Regions from separate parts of the Homo sapiens genome. Here region 1 is linked to region 2. Evidence: promoter capture Hi-C in 16 types of primary human blood cells and fetal thymus (Javierre and others, 2016). All regions are on one chromosome and are shown on one strand. The core of a region is centred on a gene start or on the middle of the fragment in contact, and the rest is flanking DNA. Distances in the headings are between cores, read along the strand shown.

What was found. The method cuts DNA at HindIII sites, captures the fragments that hold promoters and counts their contacts. A CHiCAGO score of 5 or more calls a contact.
Region 1: a contact is called between a fragment that was not itself captured here and the fragment with the promoter of OR52K1 in region 2, in 1 of 17 cell types (monocytes). The highest score is 6.3, in monocytes.

What each region holds. Positions count from the first base shown.
Region 1 is chr11:4,408,681-4,415,502 of GRCh38, reverse strand. No RefSeq gene overlaps it. Among named protein-coding and RNA genes, the nearest start is that of TRIM21, 18 kb to the right of the region's middle. The HindIII fragment of the contact is 2,872 bases long and covers 1,601-4,472 here.
Region 2 is chr11:4,479,916-4,486,988 of GRCh38, reverse strand. It overlaps OR52K1 (olfactory receptor family 52 subfamily K member 1), which reads right to left and starts at 4,343. Exons shown (of 2, transcript NM_001005171.3): 1 at 3,813-4,343. The HindIII fragment of the contact is 19,878 bases long and covers 1-7,073 here.

The DNA.
Region 1 (6,822 bases), core at 1,787-4,286, 70 kb after region 2:
ATGGTATTTTCTTGTGGTTTTAACGTATATTTCCTTGATTTCTAATAAAGTAAGCAGCTTTCCATATGTTTACTATTTGAATATATTCTTTTAGGAAGTTTTCAGTCTTTTACTCATTTTTCTATTGGGTCGCCTGCATTTTTCATATTGCTTGTATGTGTTCTCTATTCTGAATAACCACTGTACATTTTATGTGTTTAAGTGGCTGGGCCACTTTCTAATTGCCATTTTATGAAAGTTATATAACCTTGACAGGTTTCTATTTCCTGAGTCTGTTTTCAATAGCTTTGTGCATGAACCAGCTTAATCCTGTAGTTACAGGCCTCACATAATGCCTAACACTTAGTGTATTCATCACAGTATTAGTTCGCTTCACTTTTATATTCAGTGAAAGTCTAAGACTCCTTCAGGGCACTTGTTTATAAAGGAAAGATAAGCCATTGGACAATATCAAAATTCCATCATTCCCTCTTCTGCACCTGTCCTTCAGACATGTCTTCTGAGTAAACTGTGGGGATACAACTGGCTAAGGAAGTGTTCCTAGAGGGAGTCATTTACCTGTCGGCATCCTCCAGTGTCCCCAAGCTGGGTTCAGTGCATGTCTCCATCAAACACAAGTCACACCACAGTCTAATTATTATACATTGGAGCAATTATCAAGGTCAGGGCATTGTGTAATACTGCTGCTTTCTGTTAGTTATGATGATTATTAACGTTGTTAATGCTGAAAATATCCATCCCTAAGCAAGATGAAATAGGAAGAAGTATTTACAAGATGTTCTCCTATACCACTCCTGCCTCCTCCCTGACCACTTACATGCATCTGTCCTTGAGGGTCCCCAGAGAAAAGTCCTAAGACTGTAACGGGCCCATGTGCTTATTGACCGTCCCTGTGTTGCATACTGTGTGAGTTTAATTAAAGACTCATAGCTTAGGAAGAAAAAATTCTCCTCAAAGCTGTAATCTCCTGAGAGAACAATAGAAAAACATGATAAACTGTGGAAAGAAAAAACAATGGAGATAGATGGAGATAGAGGATACATGGATGATGAATAGATTGATAGATGGATCAATAGATAGATTGATGGATGGATAGGTAGATGGATGGTAGCTAAGTAGTTGCATGATAGGTAGGTGGGTGATAGGTAGATAGATAGACTAAACAGACCCCTCTAAGGAGATGGAATAAAATTAAACTACAGTCTCTGCCCCTGTACCATCTTACTCATCCAGTTTCCAAAAGACCATGAATAGTGCAAAGACTATTTCTTTCTCTAATCAGGTGAAATCTATCCCCAAGAGCCAAGATAGGAGTCACTACAAGGAGATGACCCAGATTAGAGAAGGTTGGGGACCCTCCTCCACCAAGAAGCTTTCTATGGCAACCAGTACTCAAGGGAATGTGAGGCTTTTAAGCCTCTGGCCTTGCCAGCTGAGTCCTGGGGCCAAGAAGAAAGTTACAGAAAAATGGGCCCTAGAACTGCATCCCTAGCCTAGCTAAGACTGTCAGGAGCTGGGAGCCCACATTTTCCCCAAGCCCATGACGCTGTTGTGCGTTAGCCAAAATTAGGTCTAATCCTGCTCTGCTCAGAAATAAGCTTAGCATAAACCTGCCCAGGCCAAGTACCTGTATCCAGGAAGTCACAAGCTCTCCACAGGGTCCCCAGCTCCCTCCAGAACAACTCAGACCCCCTCCACCCATGTTGCTTCAAACAGACAGCTTTATGTCATAGGGATGAACGCAGGATGTGTGGGGAAGGTTCCTTTTCTCCACAGCTCCTTCCTCCCCACACCATTTAAAAACTGAGAAATACTAAGGAGTTGCCATTGGGTTTTAACACAGGACTTGGATCCTGAAAGCTATCAATGAAATCGCAGTGAGATCTGACTAAAATAAAACTGGAGCTTCTCCAAGGGTTTTAGTTTATGTATAGAATTAAGATCCATATAGAAAAAAAATCATTATTAAATAAATCTGAACCTATTTTGTTAAATTCTGTGCTTTAATCTCTTTAAATATTTTTAAACAGTAGATCCTCTTTAAATCTGACCATAGAAATATTGTCTCACTTTCATAGTTGGCAACCAAAATCCTTGATTAAATTTAACTGGTGAAGCCAGGGTCTGGAGTGGATCAGGAATATCTCTAGTATTGAAAGACATTAAATTTTAAGTGACAGATGGGTGGATGGATGGATAGATAGATAGATAAATAGACTCAGCCTCGTACAGAGGCCTTTGTATGTAAATCACTGGCTCCTGTGAATTTTTGTAACCTGGCCTTCTGTCATCTTCCCTCCAGAGTACAGATACTGCTAATCTATCTATTAGCTGCTGAGATATTTGCAAATGTAATCTCTCTTTAACTTCCTTGAATATTTTTAATAGCACAAATAATGTGTAGTTTATTAAAAGCATGCATCTCATATTGGCATTTCAAAGGTTGGGACAGGTTGGTATATTTTATATATTTTATCCTAGGTAGGCAGCACAGGGTTAGAAGTGTGTGCTCTAGACCCAAACTGTCTGAGTTTAAATCCTGGCTTTACTACTTATTAATTGTAAGACGGTGGGCAAATTTATTAACTCTTCTATGTCCTGTGTTCTTGTCCTGAGGGAAATAAGAGAACTTCTGTCATTGAGTGGCGGTGAGGTTAAAGGAGCTCATGAAGAAATCCTAAGACCTGAATAAGTGGTAACAATGATCAGCTATTACATAGCTGACAGCCTTCTGACTTGAGTTAGCCTAGGATAAGATGGAGGGTGGCTCCCCTCTGTCCCTCCTCAAACTAGTCAGAATATGTCATCGAAGGGGAGGTTTCATCAAAGCAGCTAGACCCAAGGTTGAGGCAGAGTCCATACTGTAGGCCTGTTTCTGTCCCACAAGCAGAAGTCCCACAGTAGGATTCAGGACACCTATCAAATTCAGCCTATGCTACGAGCAGCCACCGCAGATGAACCTGGAGGACCATAGATACATTGTTTTTCTCATATTTGACCAGTTGGTTGAGGATTGAAGAGGAACATCGTTGCCTTTAATCATGAGATGACCATGTTCCTGGATCATCAAGGAATAGTCCAGCCCAAAAAAGGTAATGTTGTGATAACAGTCCATCACAAATACCCACCCAAACTCATTATTTTATAAGAAGGAGGATCAGTAAAGGCCTTAAGTAACTCTCTCTTCTCAGGTTATGGAAGGACCCGAAGCTGCCCACCCTAAACAGATTCCATTCAGGCCAGTGGTCCAAGGCCTCAGAGCTCAGGCTCCCCAGCCCAGACCCCAGATTTGACACTCTAGCCCCTGAACTTACCACACCTCCAGAGCTTGTATCTCCTCTCATCTGTTTCTCTGTGAAAGTAATTCTTGCTGTGTCAGTAAAAGTCAACACTTTATAATCCTCTTGATGGAGGTAGGGAAATAACAGGTCTGCTGGGATCCAGGTGCAAATCCAAGAGATTTCCACAATTTAACTTCCTGAACCCCCTGAGTTCTGAGCCAGGCAGCTCTGGGACATGGAAGGATGCATCAGGCAGTGTATCCTAATGATTCACACCTGAGGATTTTTCTTAGAGGGCACCAGAAGGATATTAAGATGTCCCATGGCTGGAGGCAGTGGCTCACACCTGTAATCCCAGCACTTTGGGAGGCTGAGGCGGGCAGATCACAATGTCAGGATATCGAGGCCATGCTGGCTAACACAGTGAAACCCCGTCTCTACTAAAAATAGAAAAAATTAGCCAGGCGTGGTGGCAGGTGCCTGTAGTCCCAGCTACTTGGGAGGCTGAGGCAGGAGAATGGCGTGAACCCGGGAGGCAGAGCTTGCAGTGAGCCAAGATTGTGCCACTGCACTCCAGCCTGGGTGACAGAGCGAGACTCTGTCTCAAAAAAAAAAAAAAAAAAAAAAAAAAAGATGTCCCATACTGCGTACCTCCTCTTTCCAAAGAGCCAGGCTATGAATTGCCTGGTGGCAAATGGAGGCTAGTTGGGGGAAAGAGGATGGTTAGAGACTGAGACACACTCTGTCCTTTAGGGATAACAGAGGCCATGAGTAATTCCTGCTTCTAGAAAGAATGAACACAGGCTCTTTTCAAATTCTGCCAAAGAGATATCAGGCAGTGTAGCCAAAGAGATGTGCATGAGTGCTTTAAACACAAGAGCAAGTTAGCGAAGAGAAAAGAGCTTCTCTGTCTAACTTTATGCCTGTACCTAGAGAATGTAGGTGACTGAAAATCTATATTGATAAAGCAATATCCCTTTCTCCCAGTAACACCTTTGGAGATTATTTATCAAGCATAATATAGTGAAAAAGCCACGATCTATTTCAGAATCTGTCACTTGTCAACTGTGAGCAAATTATCTCCTTGAGCCTCTTATTCTTTATTCATAAACTAGGGATGATGGTTATTTCATGAGATCATTGTTAGTATTATATTAGAATATACAAAGGGTGCAAAAAAAAAAAAAAGCTTGCAAGCTCCACACATAACTTCCTCTCCAATAGGAAACTGAGAACTGGTTCAATAACCTGTCTGGATTCCTCTATGGCCAGCATGTCATACTAACCCTCCCCCACAATTCATGGTCAGAGCTTGTTTTTGTTTTTTTTTTAATAAGTTTTATTCTGGAATAATTTTAGATTTACAAAAAAGTTACAAATATAGTTTACGGAGTTTCTGAATGTCCTTCACCCATTTTCCTTAATGTTAACATCTTACAGAACCATAGTACATTAGTCAAAACCAAAGGACTAATATTGGTACATCGCTATTAACTAAAGTCCACACTTTATTTGGATTTCACCTGCTTTTCCAATGTCTTTCTTCTGTTCCAGGATCCAATCCAGGATATCAAATTGCATTTACTCATTATTTCTCCTTAGTGTCCTCTGGTCTGAGATGGAAGTTTCTCAGTTTTTCCAAGGTTTCCATGACCTTGAGAGTCTTGAAGAACACTGGCTAGGTATTTTACAGAAGATCAGAGCATTTAATTAACCAACTTCAGCTATCACTTCCTCCTCCATTTCTAGGATGGAGAGGACAATCTAGAGTTGAAAGGCTTTGCTACAGATGTCCTTTGTTTCACTGCAGGTCCCAGTGTGTCCTGGAGATTAGGGAAGAGAAAATTTCAAAGTTCAGTCTGCTCAAGTCCCTTAGTTCCTGAGATCATCCAAGTTGTCCTTCCAACCTGGAGACCAATCTCAGACCTCCGTGGGCTGCAACCCAATACAGGCATTCTCGTATCTGTCACACATCCTATGTTCATGCATTGAAATTTAAGTCAGAAATTTCACAGGTTCTTAACAAGTTTCAGTCTCTAAAGTTAATAAGAAATTTTTAAAGGATTTGTATGTGTATTTTGCTGAAATACTTCAGAAGTATTTAACTTCTCTCTGATGAAATATTTTCTTTAGCTTCTCTACAGCCTGTCTCTAGAATCCTTCATTTGCCTTAAAACTAATAAATGTGGCCACAGTCAGATTGTCTGTCACATCTGGGATATGAGAGAAAATGATAAATGGAAGTAGACAGGTGAAACACAAGATCAATTCTATCTGCTCGTATGGAGACTACTGCCATTCACCCACTTCAGCCATCCCCTCGTCCTCAATCTCCAACATAGAGAGGGTAGCCTACAGGTGAAAGGCTCAGTTACAGATGTCCTGGAACTCTGCAGTTCTCTCTGTTTCACTGCAGTCCCAGTGTGTTTTCTTCATTCTAAAATCTACATTTTCAATAGTCTTTTCAGTGGTTCACAAAATTGGGGTTTCTTTATGCACTGTGCTTTACTTAGAGGTTAACCAGGTACCAATTCTGTTCTCAAGCAGCTATGACCCTAAAACACAGTAAACCATATGTGAAAACTGAATTGCTACATTACACTACACCCTAGCCAATAACAGAGAAATAAGACTTTGTGTAAGAGAGGATGGTATTGGAGACTTTGAGGATGTGTTAGCCTTAAATATATAGACATAAAAGTCTTGCCAGCATTGTAGTTAACTGGATATGAAATCAGACAGAACTAAAACTCCTTATTAGCCAAGTGGCCCCAGAATAGATACTGAGCCTCTAAAAGTATCAGTTTCCACTCTATAAAATTGAGATACTAAAACAATCTGGAGCGGTTTAAGTGACATGTTATATACAAAACAGTGGGCCTTATTTTTCACTGTTTCAGCATCTTTTTTATTATACTTTATTTTAAGTTCTGGGATACATGTGTAGACCATGCAGGTTTGTTACATAGGTATACATATGCCATGGTGGTTTGCTGCACCCATCAACCCATCATCTACATTAGGTTTTTCTCCTAATGCTATCCCTCCCCTAGCCCCTCACCCCCAGACAGGCCCCTGTATTGATGTTTCCCTCCCTGTTGCCATGTGTTCTCCTTGTTCAACTCCCACTGATGAGTGAGAACATGTGGTGTTTGGTTTTCTGTTCCTGTGTTAGTTTGCCGAGAATGATGGTTTCCAGCTTCATCCATGTCCCTGCAAAGAACATGAACTCATCCTTTTTTATGGCTGCATAGTATTCCTCGGTGTATATGTGCCACATTTTCTTTCTCCAGTCTATTACTGATGGGCATTTGGGTTGGTTCCAAGTCTTTGCTATTGTGAATAGTGCCACAATAAACATATGTGTGCATGTGTCTTTATAGTAGAATGATTTATAATCCTTTGAGTATATACCCAGTAATGGGATTGCTGGGTCAAATGGTATTTCTGGTTCTAGATCCTTGAGGAATCACCACACTGTCTTCCACTAATTTACACTCCCACCAACAGTGTAAAAGCGTTCCTGTTTCTCCACATCCTC
Region 2 (7,073 bases), core at 3,094-5,593:
ATCTGAATTGACCACTCTCCTGCTTAAAACTCACTTTTCTCGTGTACCACCATATTCCCGTTTCCCAGCTCCAGAGTGTCTCACTTCCTTCTCCTGCTTCTGCCCTAACTGTAAGTATTACATTTCTACAGTTCTCAAGCATCTTTTCAAATTTTATATCCATGTCATTCAGAAAATATACTAACTAAATTTAATGACAACTATTTAAACATTTTTACTGAAGAGGTTAAGGAAAAATTTATGAACAAAACAGATGGATCCCTTAGTAGAATAAGTTTGCTAAAGGTTGGAGAAGGATAATAAAAGGACATCATGATTAAATTACATATTATACAAAGTTTCATTGTTGTGATTTAAAAACCAAGGAATAGGGCAGTTATGATAGGCATTTCATGATAGGGAGCAGGAGAAGTTGAAATTTGAAATAAAAAGCTCATTATACACCTTATTAGAAAATTTGAGAAAAATTGAATGAGGTGAGGAAATACTTGGCTTCACTTCCTTAAATGCCAAACTAAAGTTTCATGCCAGTGGTATATACAGAACAATTACACAGTGAACAAGAATAGGATGAAGGAGTGGAACAGGAAAGAGAATATGGATCCAAAGTTGCCTTACTGAGATGGATAATCCAATTCCACATGAAGAACCATAGAGAAGGAACCAAAGAATTGTCCACTCTAGACACAGAAGAGGGGAACTTTTATCCACTGGCTTCCACACCCCATAGGTCAAGGATGACCCAAGGAGTGTAGATTTCCTTGCATTTTCAGGTCCATACATGTACCAGAATAACACAATGAGATCCCTGAGGTGCCCATGCAATAAAGCAGAGAAACTGTGGGAGGTGGGATACAGCTGAGTAAGGTGCTATCAACCTACACCTGCACTCGAATGGTTCCCACAACAATGCCTACAACAAAAAGGGGAGATGACAGGACATGAGAAGACCATAATAGATTTGGAATATAGGAGTCACCCAGGGGAAAGGAACAGTCTAAGAAAATGGAACAGCCAGAGAAAATGCCCCAAGACATAAAAACACCTGTTATTCAAATATCAGCAGGCAGCCAGCACAGGTAGGATGAAGCAAATGAGCAGGAGAATCAGGTCAGAACAGTGGGGCCAAATCACACAGGGCCCCACAGGCCTTTGTGGACTTTGCAAAAGTTCCCCATTTCTCTCAGAATCAAGGACATTGTTTTCAGCAGAGAGGAGATGTATGTGACTTATACTTTTAAAGTTTTCCCTGGCATCTATGATGGAGAATAGCACAAAGAGGGAAGGGTAGAATTGGGGGAAAGTACCTGGAGACTATTGCAGGAATCCAAGGAAGGGAGAACATTGGCTCAGAATCAAGGTAGCAGTGTATGTAGTGGGAAGTAATAGGATTGGGGATATATTTTTAAAATGTGTCAGTGGCATTTTTGACAGGTTAGATATAGGAAGTGAGACAACAGGGAGTCGAAGATGACACCCTGATTTTTGGCATAAACCACTGATAGGAGCTGCTCCCAACTGAGACGGGGAAAGCATGAAAGGAGGAGCTCGAGACTTCAATTTTTGAACATGGTGAGTTTGAGATATCAGAAATTCAAGTGAATATGGTAATACGTATAGAAAATAAATCATATTTAAAGCCACAAAACTGTTTGAGATCGCCCAGACAGTAAATGTTCACAGAAAAGAGAACTAGAGAACCCAGAACTGAATCCCAACATTAAGAATGGATGGGAGAAGAGTTGGAGCACACTGAGATATTCGCAAGGGAAACTGACAGTGGAAACTATTAAGATAGAAACATCCCCAAATAATGTACTATCTTAGTATATAGAATATAGTTTACTAACAAGTGGATTATTACCATGTAAAATGCTACTGATGAGTCAAAGAACTTGAAAACACAATTGGCCTTGTGTTTAGAATTGCACAAGAGGATTGGATACCTTGATAAAAGCAATTTTGCTAGAAGAGAGACAGGCAAAGCCTGACTTGACTGAGTTAGAATAGATAAGAGGGGAATTGAAGTTTGTTAACATGGCTAACTTTTTTGAGGAATTTGGAAGCAAAGGACAGCAAGTAAATAGGGCACTGGCTAAAATGGAAAGCGAAGTCAACTGTGTGTGTGTGTGTGTGTGTGTGTGTGTGTGTGTGTCTGTGTGTTTTAGAACAGAAGTATCATGTCTTTAGCTGAAGCAAATTATCCAGTAGTAGGGGAAAAGTTGAAACTTAGACGAAGAAAGAGAATACTGCTCCTGAAAAGACCGTGAATATTGCATCTTTCTAGGTGGTCTGCTGGTTGATCATTGAGAATATAAACATATCCTGAAACAAACACAAATTTACATACCTTACATTCCTTGTAAGCTCCAGACTAGGATATCCAACTCCATACTCGATATCCCCACATATCTTCCTCACAGATATGTCAAACCTGCCATGCCTGAGGCAGAAATCATGACTACTTCTCTTCTTGTGCTGCCCATATCTCAGAACGTAACATCCTGCCCAACCAGTTGCTCAACCTAGAATCAAGTCATCCTGGATTCTTCTCTTTTCTTCCTGCATCATATTTAATCATCAGCAAGCACACTGGATCATCCTACATAGTAAATCTCCACGTTGCCCATTGCGTTTCCAACACTTCCACCCTTCCAACACCATCACCCTTGTTCAAGCCACAGCATCTCCCAGCAACTACTGCTACAAAAGAATCCTAACAAGTACACAAAGTTCCACTTTGTTCTCCAATATTTATCCTTCAACAATTACCCACCATATCATGAAGTGAAGGGACTGGAGTTAAGAAACTCTACCTATTTTCCTTCTGTAAACCCAGCCTCTAACATACATAGGTGTGGAACATTTCACTAAATAAAACAGACTACTAGATTATTGGAAGACATATTTCTCAGAATACTACTCCCCTCATGTGATTTAAGCTCAGAATTTGGGTTATCTTCTCATTTAAAATGCATCCAGAATGGAGGTTCTAAGCATCCCGATTACAATACTTTGTTACCTGCATCAGAATAAAATTCTCTTCTTAATGGAAAATACTATTTTAAATATTCATAATGTTTGTGCATTTTTGTCAGGAACAAGCTCTTATGACAACAGACATTTTTATTTTCAAGTACATATCAGTACCTAGAAACATGCCTGGCGTCTAAGAAACTCTTCTAAAATACTGTGAAATAATCCCACAAACCTGCTGCATCTTTACCTTATCTCAATATGTATTTTCCACAAAACCCACATGTTTTACTTTGAGTCTCCATGTCCCCCTAGATTCCTCCATTCAACTTTTAAACATCACTAACCACCCTGTGAGCTGTCTACCCATCTTCATACAAGAAAAAAAGGCATCTCTTCTATCAGATTTCTTCCTGAAAAGACAGGGTGTCTAATAGTTCATAAATCTTACTTCCTTTGAAGTTCATCTAAAATCAACTCCTCAGAATGAAGTGCTCTGAGTAGGAGTGTGAATGGAGCCAGTCTTCTTCCCCTAATATCCAGAAACTAAGACCTCCTCTGTAGTGCAAGTTTTGTCCAGACTGTTCATTGTTTTCAGAACTAAGATGTCCATGCTCAAAGGATTTATCTTCTATTTCTCCTTAAAAAAGGCCTCTGTACCCAGAATGGACTCAATTAATACTGAATCTATTTGGTTGCCTATACCTTTATCTTAAAAGGATATCAGAATGACATATCTGAAAAACTTAGAACCAGACAAGGAAGGATAATCACATAATCAAGATACTTCAGGACTGCTTCTGGTAGAAGAACCTCAAAGATAAGGTATTTCTTACCTTTCCCTGCCATCTTTCTAGTTCAGGCCTCGTTTTCTTCCTCTTGACTAATGCAGAAGCCCTTTAACTGGGATGGGGCATTTGCCAGGGGTTAGAAAAAGCAATGACAGGAGGTGAGAAGTGACAGATCCAAACTGGAATAATCAACTAAGACTTCTTGGAGATGGCCCACAGTGTTTGGCATAGGACGGAAGCAGGCATCCTCTGTGGTGGGGAGAGCATCTGGAGTTTGTGTACCAAACAGTTGGGTGGGACTATCGAGACTTCTGTTCCCTCTATTGAAGGACCAGAGTAGAAGCAATAACAGGGTTGGAGAGCTGATGCCTAAGATCAGGAATGGCTATGGGAAGAAATTGACAGTGCCCCCACCTTCCAGCTCACTCCCACCTTCCTGCTCACCCCAATAACATCACTTGTTTTCTATTTCCCTAAGTTGCAGCTGTATCCACAGTCCTCAGTCTGACTTACAATCCTGGGCCCTTTTCATTAGCTTCATGCAGCACCAGTGCCGCCTTCCTCTTTCAGTCTAAGGAGTCTTAGAAGGAGGAAGCTGGGAAGCGAGCAGCTGGCTTTAATCCTCACCAACCTCTGCCCTTCTCCCAGAAGGCTGTGGAAGCAGAAACTGCTGCACTTGAGCAGAGTCCTCAGAGACATCTCTGGCCTCCTCTCTCTGGGTTGATGCAAGGGGACTTCCCCTGACCCAAGGGGACTGTATCCTTGTTTCCTACAACCCATGCCTCCTCCCCAGCTAGTGGCACTGAGTTGTGCCTACCAGGGGTCATGCCCTACTTGCCAGAGGCTGTGAGACTTTCAGGTGGAGCTGGCTTGTGTCTTGGTGTTTGCTGTGCCTCTCCTTACTCTTTATCCTTACAGTGTCTTCAAAGAAAGCCAGCCTCATCAGAAAATATACACTGCAGGCAACTCCTGTCAGAACTGACTTGAAAGGGCAGGGAGTCCAGCCTGACCAGGCCAAGGTCATCCATTAGGCATTTTATTTTGCATTCATATTTCATATTGGCCTGAGATATGCATTAATAACCAGCTCGTGAACTTGATCTGGCACCTGTCTGATCCCTGATCTATTTTTCTTATCTCTAAGGTAGAGATAACTTTTACAATATTTTCTAACTCACAAGGATAGGAGGATCTAAGTAGATAAACAAGAGGCCACTATGAATGTGATTCCTTATTAATAATTAGGAAATTACCAATCATCTATAAATGATAAAGAGTGATCTTTCTACCTACAGCTGACTTAATGTGTGCTATTTTTCAAGGACCTGAGAAGATGCTTTTCACTAGAGTTCTCCATGGATTTTGTCTACCCTAATTCCCCATAATTTTTAAAAGCAATCTCAGAACGCTGTAACTCAGTCATCTCACTCCCTTCCCACACAGGTACCCTGGAACTAACTTCCCCTTCTGTAATAGTTGGCCCTCAAGGGTGTGGACTCAGCACTCCTCCATGATAAGTCTGATCTTTTGGGATGCTGGGATAAAGTGGAATTCCTACATAGTTTTAACAATGTACAGCTAGGCCAAGGGGATACAGCCTGTATGAAAAGCACCTCACCAAAACCTAATATGGCAAAAGCCAGATAAAAGCCAGACAAGAGCCAGATAGAATAGACAGTGTTTTTGTGAACAAAGCACCTTAATTTGCCCCCAACTCCATTCTGAATGGGCAATCCTGACATCATAGGAGCAGGATAAGAAGCACATGGAGTGGGGGAGTGGGCAGTGGGGCCATTGGCTCAAACCATGCTGGAGATAACTGCTGGAATATTGGAACACTTAGACTGTTTAATTCATTGACATCCTCCCCACCCTATCTTTTCTTTTGTAAAATCTAGATTCTTTTACATTCATATGCATCTTTGTTTTGGTGTTCTTCATTCCCTCCAGGTTTTTCATGTTTCCATCTGGATCATTTTTTTTCTGCATGAAAAACTACTTTTATTTTTGCTTTTATTACAGGCCATATAGTGACACATTCCATCAACTTTTGCTCATTTGTAAAATTATCTTAGTCATCTTTGTTTGTGAAAGATGACTCACCTCCCGGGCCTCTGTCTAAAATTCTATTTCAATTTGAATAGGTTTTTAAATGGGCAATTCTTCTTTCATCCACTTTAGTATATTAATTGTATTCTGCCTTCACTTGCTTTTTTTGAAGTCAAGTATCTATTAATATCAGTCTTATTGTTGATCCTGTGAATATAATGTGCCCTACCCATACCTGGGTGCTGCTTTCTTTTTTTTTTTTTCCAGTTAGCTGTGATCACACAGAACATTGTAGGCCTTTGTATCAGTCTGTTCTCACACTGCTATGAAGAACTACCTGAGACTGGGTACTTTTATGGAGAAAAGAGGTTTGACTGACTCACAGTTCCTGCAGGCTGTACAGAAGCATGGCTGGGAGGCCTCAGGAAACTTAGTCATGGCAGAAGATGAAGGGGAAGCAAGCAGGTCTTACCACAGCGGAGCAGGAAAAAGGGAATGGGGGCGGGGCCATACGCTTTTAAACAGAACATCAAGGGGGAAATCTGCCCCCATGATCCTATCACCTCTCACCAGGTCCCCTCTTCTGACATGTGGGGATTACAATTCGAGAGGAGATTTGGGTGTGGACACAGAGCCAAACCATATCAGCCATGTAAGGATTTCACTTTGCAAAGGTTCATAATTTCTCTCGGAATAAAAGCCAAGGTTGAGCAGTGAATTGACATTATTTGACATATGTTTTTTAGATATTGCTTCTGACTTAATGGGAACAGCACAAGATGATGAGGATGAAAGCAGAGAAAGGATTACAGATGCTATTGTAGGCATCCAGAGAGAAGATGGTGTTTCCAAATCAATGTGTTAATCATATATATGGAGAGAAATCAGATGTATCAGATTTTATATCTATTTTTTAAGTGCCAGTGGGAATTCCTGAAAAATTAGCTCCAGGCTGTGAGAGAAAAAGAAATCAAAGATAACACCAAGACTCCTTGCTTGAGGAACACGTAGGTGGGAAGGTGTTGTGAGGGTTGCTAGGCAGAACAGGATCCTATACTCAAGCATTGATCCTACTTTAAGGATGATGTGCACCTCTGTGTCCTAGCTTGGAATGTTGGGATGACCTAGTTTTTGAGTGATTAGAAGTATTGCATCTAGGCCTAGATAACTGCATCAAGTTTCCTTTATCCTAATCTATATACCCATCTATATGGGTATAAAATTATATGTGCCTGTAGGCTACTCATATTTCTTATT